Regions from separate parts of the Homo sapiens genome. Here region 2 is linked to region 1. Evidence: promoter capture Hi-C in human tissues and cell types (Jung and others, 2019). All regions are on one chromosome and are shown on one strand. The core of a region is centred on a gene start or on the middle of the fragment in contact, and the rest is flanking DNA. Distances in the headings are between cores, read along the strand shown. Region 1 holds the start of RPE65 (retinoid isomerohydrolase RPE65). Region 2 has its middle 47 kb from the start of RPE65.

What was found. The method cuts DNA at HindIII sites, captures the fragments that hold promoters and counts their contacts. A contact is called where the count stands out against the background at its distance.
Region 2: a fragment that was not itself captured here is called in contact with the fragment with the promoter of RPE65 in region 1 in 2 of the 25 tissues and cell types used here (H1 embryonic stem cells and adrenal gland).

What each region holds. Positions count from the first base shown.
Region 1 is chr1:68,448,704-68,454,817 of GRCh38, reverse strand. RPE65 (retinoid isomerohydrolase RPE65) reads left to right here and starts at 4,864. Exons shown (of 14, transcript NM_000329.3): 1 at 4,864-4,923; 2 at 6,112-6,114. The coding sequence starts at 4,913. LOC124904198 (a long non-coding RNA gene) reads right to left here. Exons shown (of 2, transcript XR_007066164.1): 2 at 3,295-6,114. The HindIII fragment of the contact is 15,503 bases long and covers 1-6,114 here.
Region 2 is chr1:68,399,707-68,405,820 of GRCh38, reverse strand. No RefSeq gene overlaps it. Among named protein-coding and RNA genes, the nearest start is that of RPE65, 47 kb to the left of the region's middle. The HindIII fragment of the contact is 4,547 bases long and covers 409-4,955 here.

The sequences.
Region 1 (6,114 bases), core at 3,615-6,114:
TGGTGAAAGTGACAGTAGATCAGTTCTGAGCCTAGGCCTTAAGCGGCTTCTCCTGTTATCACTTGCTCTTTCATTTGTCATTGCCAGGGGAATAAGCCCTGGCTGGCCTGCTGGAGAGGAGAGGTATAGCAGAGCCAAATAACCTCACTTATTTCAGCCAGTATCTAGACAGCAAGGTAAACTCCAGTTATGAAAGCAAATTAAGACATATTGCAGATACACCTAGCCAACCACCCGAGAAACTTACTCTTGTGTGACACTGAGGTTTGCTGTTTGGCTTTTATGCTACAATGTTAGCAATAGATAGGTGATGATCTTTAACTCATTTTCTTATATCCCATATATATCAACCTATCATGTGTCCTATAATTTCTACCTACAAAACATATCTCAAATCTTTCAATCTTTTTTCCATATGCATTGCTCTACTGTAATCTAAGCACCATCATCACCTCACCTGAAATGAACTGCCAGTTTCCCTACTTCCTTTCTAGACACTTATAATCCATTCTTCAAATACCAGTGGGAGTGATTTTTTTCCAAAACATAAATCAGATCCCTCAGTCATTCCCCTGTTTAAAGCCCTGAATATCTTCCCATTGCTCTCAGAACTCAATCCAAACTCCTCACCATGACCTGCAGGCCCCAGCTGATCTGCCTAATATCAGGATGAAAAAGCAGCTTTTATAATACCCTCTAAACCAGTTTCTTCAAAGAAATGTGGAATCAGTTTCTATTTAGAAATCTCTGTAGAAAGGTGTTTTGCTATTTTAATTCATGGAATATTATTTTGGTAAATACACCAAAGTATGTCAAAATAACAGTTTCTTAGGCAGACACAGAAATTGGACATAAAGATCTGATTTTACCAAAAGACAAAAAATTAAGGTGGGGAAGGAATAAAAGGAGATGATGAAAAGAGAAGTAACAATACATTGGGGATCCGGTGTATCACACTGAAACCACAGAAAGATAAAGTTAGACCTAGAAAAGAGGTCTACATTTGAGGATATAGGAGCAAAGAGGTCAAAATCATGCTTTGAAAGGATGTGGACATCTGATCTTTAACTTCACACCAATGGCAGAATAAGAAAAAAATGGGTTACTTCTGAGGTAGGAAGTAGTAGCTAGAAGATTAGACACTCTCAAACTTCCTGAGAATTGACATTAATAAGCATTACTTAATATTCATATGGAATACTTCTGGCTAAAGAATGCTTTTGCATATTTTCCCTGTCTTATACCTGAGGAGCTCAGGGTTCAATGAAATTTAATACACAGAAATTAGTTTTCATCCTGAATTTCTCCAAGCGTACTAATTTGATGATTCATATGGCCTACGGGTTTGTGAGCATTCCTAGAATGAATTGCCATGATTTGTACTTTTAAAAGAAATATCCTTCAAGAAGCTGACTTCTAGGATCTATACGTTGAAGCATAAAGGATACCACAGACGCAAAACAATGCAAAAAGTGCTAAAACCAGTTGCTGTTCTTAAACAATGTGGTTATAGCCCCAGAACACCAAAGGCAGCACAGGGATATCTAAGAAAGGCACTTGGTGCAGACACGGGCACCAGCAAGACCGGATTCTCATCTCCCAGGAGGTGAACTTAAATGCAGTTTGTTAATGCTCTCTCTCTCAACTAGTATACGCTTTCTTTCCGACAAAGACTTCTCTTTCAGCCTCTTGTAATGGGAGGGGAGAGGTGAAAATTTTAAAAAGCTGCTGGGTCTTGATATTAGTGGAATTTCTCTCCAATGAACTGACAGTGTACAGGTATGACAACATGGCCTGTAGCTCTTCTCGAAGAGAAGAGACTGCTGAGAAAATAAAATCCAACAAAAATGCTGCAGGAGAAAGTCTTTCTAACATGCTCATTCCTCTGCCTTCTCTCACTCTGCATCTTTCCCTAAGAATGCCACCTCCATCTTTTTTCTATGTCAACACTGAGCTTATCCTTCAGATGCTAACTCATTCAGCCTCCCTATTAGGCTCTCAAATGATTACAGGCCCCGGGGATCTTCTCCTTTAATAAATAAGTTCAAATCACAATCAGAATTCATTTTCTCTGTATCCCTGAAACATCACACACACACACACACACACACACACACACACGGTGTGCATTATCTGAATGAATTGTACCAGAAACCAGAAACCCACCGGTAATCCTTTTTTATGCCTTTTATTTCCCCAACACATTTACCAGTCCCAGAGTTAGATTAGGCCTCCTCTGAAGTATCTCTTGAATTTCACTATTCGTATCCATCCCTCAGTGTACCTGCTTACAACAGCTATCTCCACTTGTTTGATCTGTGCCTCCCTTTAATTTGTCTTGCCCAAATCTCCTATTCCAGTATATTATCCACAATGCATTCTAAGTCGTCCTACTAAAATGCAAATCAGATCATGTCACTCCTCTGGATAAAATATTTCAGTGATTCCCCTTTTCTCATGACAAGGGTCTGGATTTCTGTAAATGGTTTATGATGTTCTTTTTTTTTTTTTTTTTTTTTTGAGATGGAGTCTCGCTCTGTCACCCAGGCTAAAGTGCAGTGGCACGATCTCAGCTCACTGCAAGTTCCGCCTCCTGGGTTCACGCCATTCTCCTGCCTCAGCCTCCCGAGTAGCTAGGGCTACGGGTGCCCACCACCACACCCGGATAATTTTTTGTATTTTTAGTAGAGACGGGGTTTCACCGTGTTAGCCAGGATGGTTTCGATCTCCTGACCTCGTGATCTGCCCACCTCGGCCTCCCAAAGGGCCGGGATTACAGGCGTGAGCCACTGTGCCTGGCCTAGTTTATGATGTTCTACACAATCTGGCCTATGATTATCTCTAGTCCAGTTTCATCTCTAGCTATTTTCCCACCTTATGTTAGCCTCTAGACTTTTATAAATAACACAAGCTGTGCCTGAACACTCTTCTACCTGCCCTTTGACTGGCTAACTTTTATATATTTATCCCATCTCAGCTTAGATACTTCCTTTTTCTCCTGGAGGTTCCTAATGCCAGTATCAATGTTCTTCCTGGGTGGTACCACAGCATCCTACGGTGACGAGGAGGAGGTGGCCTAGATCCTTCCTTTTCTTGGTAAAGGGTGGAAGCAGTGTGGATACTTTACTTGGTGTGTTCTGATATCCATGTGTCACTAGGCACTTGTTCTTTGTGTCTTCACATCTCCTCCTGTTGCATTTTAAAGCACTTTCATAGTATATGGTTTTGCCTAATAAAGCATTCTCATAGCAAAAAAAAAAGTATGGTATTGTGCAAATAAGTGCTCACTCCAAATTAGTGGTATATTTATTGAAGTTTAATATTGTGTTTGTGATACAGAAGTATTTGCTTTAATTCTAAATAAAAATTTTATGCTTTTATTGCTGGTTTAAGAAGATTTGGATTATCCTTGTACTTTGAGGAGAAGTTTCTTATTTGAAATATTTTGGAAACAGGTCTTTTAATGTGGAAAGATAGATATTAATCTCCTCTTCTATTACTCTCCAAGATCCAACAAAAGTGATTATACCCCCCAAAATATGATGGTAGTATCTTATACTACCATCATTTTATAGGCATAGGGCTCTTAGCTGCAAATAATGGAACTAACTCTAATAAAGCAGAACGCAAATATTGTAAATATTAGAGAGCTAACAATCTCTGGGATGGCTAAAGGATGGAGCTTGGAGGCTACCCAGCCAGTAACAATATTCCGGGCTCCACTGTTGAATGGAGACACTACAACTGCCTTGGATGGGCAGAGATATTATGGATGCTAAGCCCCAGGTGCTACCATTAGGACTTCTACCACTGTCCCTAACGGGTGGAGCCCATCACATGCCTATGCCCTCACTGTAAGGAAATGAAGCTACTGTTGTATATCTTGGGAAGCACTTGGATTAATTGTTATACAGTTTTGTTGAAGAAGACCCCTAGGGTAAGTAGCCATAACTGCACACTAAATTTAAAATTGTTAATGAGTTTCTCAAAAAAAATGTTAAGGTTGTTAGCTGGTATAGTATATATCTTGCCTGTTTTCCAAGGACTTCTTTGGGCAGTACCTTGTCTGTGCTGGCAAGCAACTGAGACTTAATGAAAGAGTATTGGAGATATGAATGAATTGATGCTGTATACTCTCAGAGTGCCAAACATATACCAATGGACAAGAAGGTGAGGCAGAGAGCAGACAGGCATTAGTGACAAGCAAAGATATGCAGAATTTCATTCTCAGCAAATCAAAAGTCCTCAACCTGGTTGGAAGAATATTGGCACTGAATGGTATCAATAAGGTTGCTAGAGAGGGTTAGAGGTGCACAATGTGCTTCCATAACATTTTATACTTCTCCAATCTTAGCACTAATCAAACATGGTTGAATACTTTGTTTACTATAACTCTTACAGAGTTATAAGATCTGTGAAGACAGGGACAGGGACAATACCCATCTCTGTCTGGTTCATAGGTGGTATGTAATAGATATTTTTAAAAATAAGTGAGTTAATGAATGAGGGTGAGAATGAAGGCACAGAGGTATTAGGGGGAGGTGGGCCCCAGAGAATGGTGCCAAGGTCCAGTGGGGTGACTGGGATCAGCTCAGGCCTGACGCTGGCCACTCCCACCTAGCTCCTTTCTTTCTAATCTGTTCTCATTCTCCTTGGGAAGGATTGAGGTCTCTGGAAAACAGCCAAACAACTGTTATGGGAACAGCAAGCCCAAATAAAGCCAAGCATCAGGGGGATCTGAGAGCTGAAAGCAACTTCTGTTCCCCCTCCCTCAGCTGAAGGGGTGGGGAAGGGCTCCCAAAGCCATAACTCCTTTTAAGGGATTTAGAAGGCATAAAAAGGCCCCTGGCTGAGAACTTCCTTCTTCATTCTGCAGTTGGTGCCAGAACTCTGGATCCTGAACTGGAAGAAAATGTCTATCCAGTAAGTATCTCTGGGAGACTTTTTTAAAACACCTTCATGGATTCATGATAAATGTGCTATTTCAAGGGCTCCTGAAGAGAAGGCATTGATTAATGACCTGTTTAGGAAAGACCCTTGAATTTTGGTGGGGAAATTTTTTCCTGCTTATGTATTAAAGCAACTAGCTAGAATTCAGGTCCAAATTATGGGGGGTTTGTGTGACTTAGCCCGGGGTTTGGAAGCAGTCTTGAGTATGGGGATTTCAGACAGACTTGGGCTCCACTCCTTGCCCAGTCATTTCCTAGTGTGTGACTTTGGACAAATTACCTAACTTTTTAAGTCTAGCTTTTCCTGTATATAGAAAGATGTCACAATAGCTTTTACTCCATTATGTTACTGTGAGATTTAAAAGAGATAATACCATGCAAAGTTCTTTTTATGGTATGTAGGACATAGTAATTGTTTAGTAAAAGGTAATTATTATAATTGAGTCTGGTCAGAGATTCCACTCTTTGAAGTTACAACATGAAACTGAACAGAGGATGTAGAAAGTAAACAAAAATATAGAACCTGAATCTCCTGGTCTGACTATGATGAAAAAGTACTGTAGGTCTTGGGGATTGGTAGAGAAATGAGATGATGGGGAAAAAATTATGGTATAATATGAGTGAATAATGAAAGATGAGGTACCTGACCCAAAAAGCTGTCATCTCTCAACCCCTAGGAAGGAGATAAATGGGTCTCTCCTTGAGGCAAGAAAATCAATGATGCTGTGAGCTGAGCATGTTGATAGGGTGGGAGAATACTGTGGGAAGGACCCTGTTTAGGAACAAATTTCAGGAAGTGAACTGATGGCAGTAGGATTGATTGATTTGTCTTCCGAAGTAAGGAAAAACTGCAGAGGACAGGATTAAGTTCACTGTAACCATTGACATTAAAAGAGAGGTCATGTCTCTTGACATCAGAGCAGTGATCTGGGACCCCCTTCCATACCTGAGTAGTCTTCCCCACCCCCAGCCTCACGTGCTCCTCCCGCCCTCACCTTCGCTTCTCCCCCCACCCCCACCCCCACCCAGCTGAGACTAGACCGGCAGGAGTGAACAGGCTTTGAGCCAGCCCTAGAGTGCCTTCTCTCCTGCAGCTCTGCCTCTATCTCTGCGGACTTTGAGCATCAACATGGGCTTCTTCCTTATTCTTCCACCATTTCAGGGT
Region 2 (6,114 bases), core at 1,433-3,932, 47 kb after region 1:
AAGCAAGGATTATGTGATGGGGATGTTAAAGATGAGTGAAGTAAAAAGAAAAGGATTTCTCATTCATGTCTGTGCTATTCATTTTAAGGGTACAGAACAGATAGCAATAATATCAATATTGACAGCTAACATATATTGAACACTTACTATCTGCCAGGGTTCAGTTTAAGTATTCACATGTGTTATAGCATTTCATCCTTCCCAATCCCTATTTTACTGATAAGAAAGCTGAGGTACAAAGAGGTTATGTGACTTGCCCAAAATCTCACTTCTTATTAGGATTATAGTTAGGATTTGGACCAAGGCTATCTGGTTCCAGAGTTTCCACTGTTCACCACCAGCTCTGCTGCTCCTCAGTATTAAGCTGCTGCTATCACTCTACTACTAATCCTACTTCTAATCTCTTCCGAATTATTCTCCTTCTCTTCCTGCTTCTCCTTTCCTCTCCTCTTCCTCTCTCCTTCCTTTTACTCATTCCCGTATTGCTGCTGCTGCTGCTGCCGCTGCTACTACTACTACTATCACTACTACTATTACTAGTACATCATACTGGTTAAGAGCACAGTTTCTGAAACCAGATTGTTGAGGTTTAAAATTTAGCTTCACCATTCACAGTTAATGACTTGGCAAGTTTCTTAACTATTCTGTGACTTAGTCTCACCCATAAAACAAGGGTGATTACAGTACCTATTTCATAGAATTATTCTGATGATCAAATAAAGTAATATATGTCAAGCAATTAGAATAGGTCCTGGCACATAGTGAAAGCTCAAAATAGGGTATTTTATTACCATTTCAGCTTAGTTGGAACAATTCACATAGTTATTGGAAGGTTTGTTTGTAGTTTACTATAATTACATCTGTTTAAATTATTTCCTAGAACACCTGGTCAAGGAACACCATTCATTCTTGGTCCAACAGGCTTTTGGTGTCATTCTAAAATAATGAAAATAATGAAACATATAGACAATAATACTGAATTTATTAAGCCAGTTGTTCTCACATCTCTCCAGAAATTAAAAATTCATGACTGTGCCCAGCACATTTAAACACAACCAGTGGATATTCATTAACTATCTGTGATGATGATACATGATACAGGATAATTTGCCTCTTAATTATCTTGAAAGATTTTAACTCAAGCACTAAAACATGAGCTTTCCCTGGAGAAAATGAATTTGCCTGACATAAGCAAAGTGAAAGTATGTTAAAACAACTGGAATAGCATTCATTTTTACTTTGAGCTGTGGAAGGTTTCAGTGCTGAAACAAGTTTCCCACTGCAGAACCCTCTCTGTCCCTGGGAATGGAACAAATACTCACATCATATCATTCTCTCTGATGGAATTTAACTTGAAGTTTTACTTCACCCATAAAGGTGCTTAGTTCTCTCATGTTATTGTCAGAAGTGAAGGCTAGAGAGCAGATCTAAGTTATAAGTGAAAAGATTCGCCTTGGTAGAGAGGCTCTTGTAGCTTAGCTTTACAAGAAAGATGTGTTCATGCAAAATAAACCCCTCCAGATGAGCCAAACCCTTTACAAGCATTGTTTCACATTCTGCTTTGAACTCTTGGACTCAACTTCCCATCTGTCAACTGGCTCAAAATCTACAAAAGGCATGCGACATATGCATGCCGACTCAACTGATTAAAATGTCCTCATGATGCACTTTGCAGAAACTTATCAGTTAGAGTTTTAAATTTGCATTTGAGTTTATTTAATTAATATCTGTCTCTTCCACTTCCATGTAAGTTCATCTGGCACATAGGAGGTACTCAATGATTATTTGCTGAATAAATGAGTGACCGAATGAACAAACGGTTTAAAAACTGATTATATCCAGACATTAATTTATTTGTTTACTCAACAAATATGTATGTGTCAGTCATTCCAAGGAATACAAATCCTGGTAAAGCATTAAAATAATGGCCAGACCCTTTTCTTTTTGGTGTTGTCAAATAATAGCAATTTCTGCTACAAGTTTTGGCACCTGCGTAACAGCCGATAATAATAGCTATCATTTTTTAACATGAGCCAGACAATTTACATGAATATCTGGCTAAATTTGTATAATAATATTATGAAAAAAGATGTTATGAATGTACTCATTTTAGATAAAGAAACCGAGACATACACAGTAAATAACTTACTCAAAATCACATTTTTAGAAGTGATCAAAAGGGAACTCAAAATCAGGATCATCAAATTCCAAAGGCTATTTTGTGACTACCACTGTTACTCTGTTTTATAAGAGCTCACTCTTGACACTTTTTTGAAAACTTCCTTCATTGAAATATACTTTTCCTAATTCCATAGGATCCTGGGATTGGGCACTCACACATTCTCAGACATTTCTAGCATTTTCCTTTGCTCGGGTATTTAAAACATACTAACAGAGTTTGAAGGGAAAAAAATCAGATTTCAACAGGAGTCATCAAGCCCCATTAAATTGGCATCAGCCTGAAAAAGCATCACACTTAGAATATAACTCATTAGTCTCTAGTTGATCAATCATGTTTAAAATTTATTTATATCACATCTTTATAAAAGAGATAAGTATTCTTTATCACTAAGCTTTAATTTTTGTTGTCACATTTTATAATTTAGGTAAATATTTTGCATAAGTGTACCAAAATTTTTAGTAGGAATGATTAGTTATTTGTCCAGGCAATCCATTTAGAAGCAAATGGATTTTTTTTGTTTACCCCTTTAACATCTAGAAGAGACTCAAATCCTTGAGGGGCCAGTTCATTTAGCTCTTCTAGGCTGTATAAAGGGTCATCATATTTCACAGGCTCTTCAGGTAGAAATCTATAATTTATTATGAGAAAAATATTTCTAACCTGGTTGTAAGCTTTTTTTCCAGAATATGCAAGATAGTCAACACCACCACTGACTCTAAATGGAAACAAATTAGGGTATAAACATGAAAATTTTCCATTCAAAATATAAAATTATAGATAAAAATTTAAGCCCAGATGATAGAAAATAATTATGTTCTCACAAGCCCAGTGCACATTTTGTCTATATTTTCTATCAAGAAATAATCTTACCTGACCTTGGCATTAGAAAGGGTTATATTTCTCTTAGGCAACTGGAACATTTTAATCTCATATGATTTGTAAAATTGATTGGAATTCATTTTGCTGATAGCTATTAGAAAGGTTAGAATCAGATTTGTGTCCCACTGATTGGACACCTGTAAGATGTTGTGGTACCTATCTTTTACAGTCTCATCCCTGATTCTATTTTATGTCTCTACTCTAACTCTGCTATCTTGTTTTTTATGTACATTTAATTTTAATTACTTTTTTGTAGTTCAGGTAACTTAATAAGCTGCTTTGAAATCCTTAAAATAGTAACTTATTTCTTCATTTTCCATTCCTATTTTTTATAACATTATTACACTGGCTTGGACCACCAGTATAAGGCTGAAGTGATGACAGTGAGCATACTTGATTTGTTCATAACCTCAGATGAATGGCTTTCAGCAGGTTTTGTTTGCTTGTTTTTTCTCTTCGTTAATACTTTTTACTGAACTAGGGATGTTCTTTTCTATTTCAGATTTTCTAACAGTTTTTATTATGAATGGATATTGATTGTTATCAAATGATTTTTGTGTCTAAGGAGATATGAGTTTTCTAGAGTCTGTTGATGTGATGAATTCCATTAATTTTCCACTGAAAGACCAAATTTGCATTACTAGAAATAAACCAGGTTGATTTTGTTCTATTATTCTTTTTAGAAAATTCCTGGATTTGGTGTGCCAATATTTTATATAAGATTTGTTATCTAGGTATGTGAAAAAAAGATTGACCTGAGATTCCCCCCCTTTTTTTTTGAAGCTCCTGTCAGATTTCATTATCAAGGTTATGTAGATCTCACAAAAAAACTAGGAAGCACTCTCTATTTTTCTATTTTCTAGAAAAGCTCATGTAAGATGCATTACTTTTTCCTTTATATATAGTCATGTGCTGCATAACAACGTTTCAGTCAGCATACACGATGGTGGCCTCATAAGATTATATCGTATTTTACTGTCCCTTTTCTATGTATACATATGTTTACATACACAAATACTTGCCATTGTGTGACAATCGCCTACAGTAGGTCACTACAGAAACTTGCTATACAGGTTTGTAGACTACAGCCTACATGTATAGTAGGCTATACCATCCAGGTTTGTGTAAGTACACTCTATGACATTCACACCATGATAAAATCACCCAATACATTTCTCAGAATCTATCCTCAATATTAAGTGATGCATGACTGTATTTTAAAAAACTCATTGGTAATGCTGGCTGCACTTAAAGTTTTCTATATGGAAAATGTTTAATTATACATTAAGTTTCTTTAGAAGTTATAACATTTCTCTGATTTTGTATTTTTTCTTCTGTCACTTTTGGCAAGATTTTATTTTCCTAGAAATTTGTCTATTATATTTAAATTTTTAAATTTGTTGACAAAAATTTGTTCACAATATATTTTTATGGTCTTTTTAATGTCTCCATTTTCATTCCTTCTCACTTTTTGTAACTTCTCACTTTTTGTCTTATTAATTTTCACCTGAGAGTTATCAATTTTATTAATCTTTTCAAAGAGACAATTTTTGATTCTGTTGTTTTTTATTGAATACTTGTTTTCATTTCAATATTTTCTGCTTTTATTTTTTTTCCTTGTGAGCATTTTTGCACATGTCTTTTGGTGGCAGAGATGTTCATTGCTCTTGGGATGGCTAAGTCATGGAGCTGGAATATCTTTAGCTTCAATAATTACTTACAATTTGCCAAAGTGTTTTATCAATTTACATTTTCACAAGCAATGTATGAGAGTTCCAGTTGCTCTACATCCTATATCCTTCTCAATATTTAGTTTTGCCAGTCTTTTTAATGTTAGCCATTCTGGGTACTATCTCCTTGTGACTTTTATTTGCATTTTCCAAATGAGTAACGATATCAAGTACTTTTTCATATGTTTATTGCCATTTGAATATCTCTTTTTGTGAACTGTTTCTAATAAAACTTTAAATACACATATACCTTAACCCAACACTTCCACTTCTGGGAATCTATTCCACAAAAATATTCACCCTATTTATGCAAGAAATATGTATATCGAAGCATTGCTTATAAAACCAAAACACTGGAAAGAACCCACATGTTTTGTTTAGGGAAACATTATGAGAAACTAGGTAGTTATCTTTAATGATGCAAATTCATGAAAACAGTTCGAACACTATTTTTGCCCTTAGGGATATACAGTGCAGATCCAGAGAGGAAATGTCCTACCAGATAGAAGACTTTTTATACCTTTTTAGAGAGCTGCCACTTTCTGCATATACGACAGTCTCCAAAATAGATAATAGTATCTTTCCTATCAATAGCACTGATTTTTAAACAGAATAAAATGAGATGAACTATGTGAATATATTTTTAGAATGATATGAATGGTGTACTATACGAATGTTTTTCTTAATTCTCCAAATATTCAATAAATCTGTGAAAATTTTAACTGTTAAGAATTTAGGGGGCCGGGTGCGGTGGCTCACGCCTGTAATCGCAGCACTTTGGGAGGCCGAGGCGGGCGGATCACAGGGTCAGGAGTTCGAGACCATCCTCCCTAACATGGTGAAACCCCGGCTCTACTAAAAATACAAAAAAAATTAGCCGGGCATGCTGGCAGGCGCCTGTGGTCCCAGCTACTTGGGAGGCTGAGACAGGAGAATGGCGTGAACCTGGGAGGCAGAGCTTGCAGTGAGCAGAGATCGCACCACTGCATTCCAGCCTGGGCGACAGAGCGAGACTCCATATCAAAAAAAAAAAAAAAAAAAAAAAGAATTTAGTAGAAAATTTAAAGATGTAATAATAACTTCTCATAATTGCACAGTGCTTTCTGATTTAGGTTATATATTAACATATTTTCTATTGTAATAACTGTTAAGTAGAAAAAAGACAGATGCCGTTGTTTTTGTTACTAGCGGTGGTGGTGGTAATATTACTGTCACCACTACCATGACTAGTAACAACTAGTAGGACTAGCAGTGGTAGAAGTAATAGCGGTAGTAGTTCTATTTATGTTTATTTATTATAATCATTCTTAATATAGGAAGACA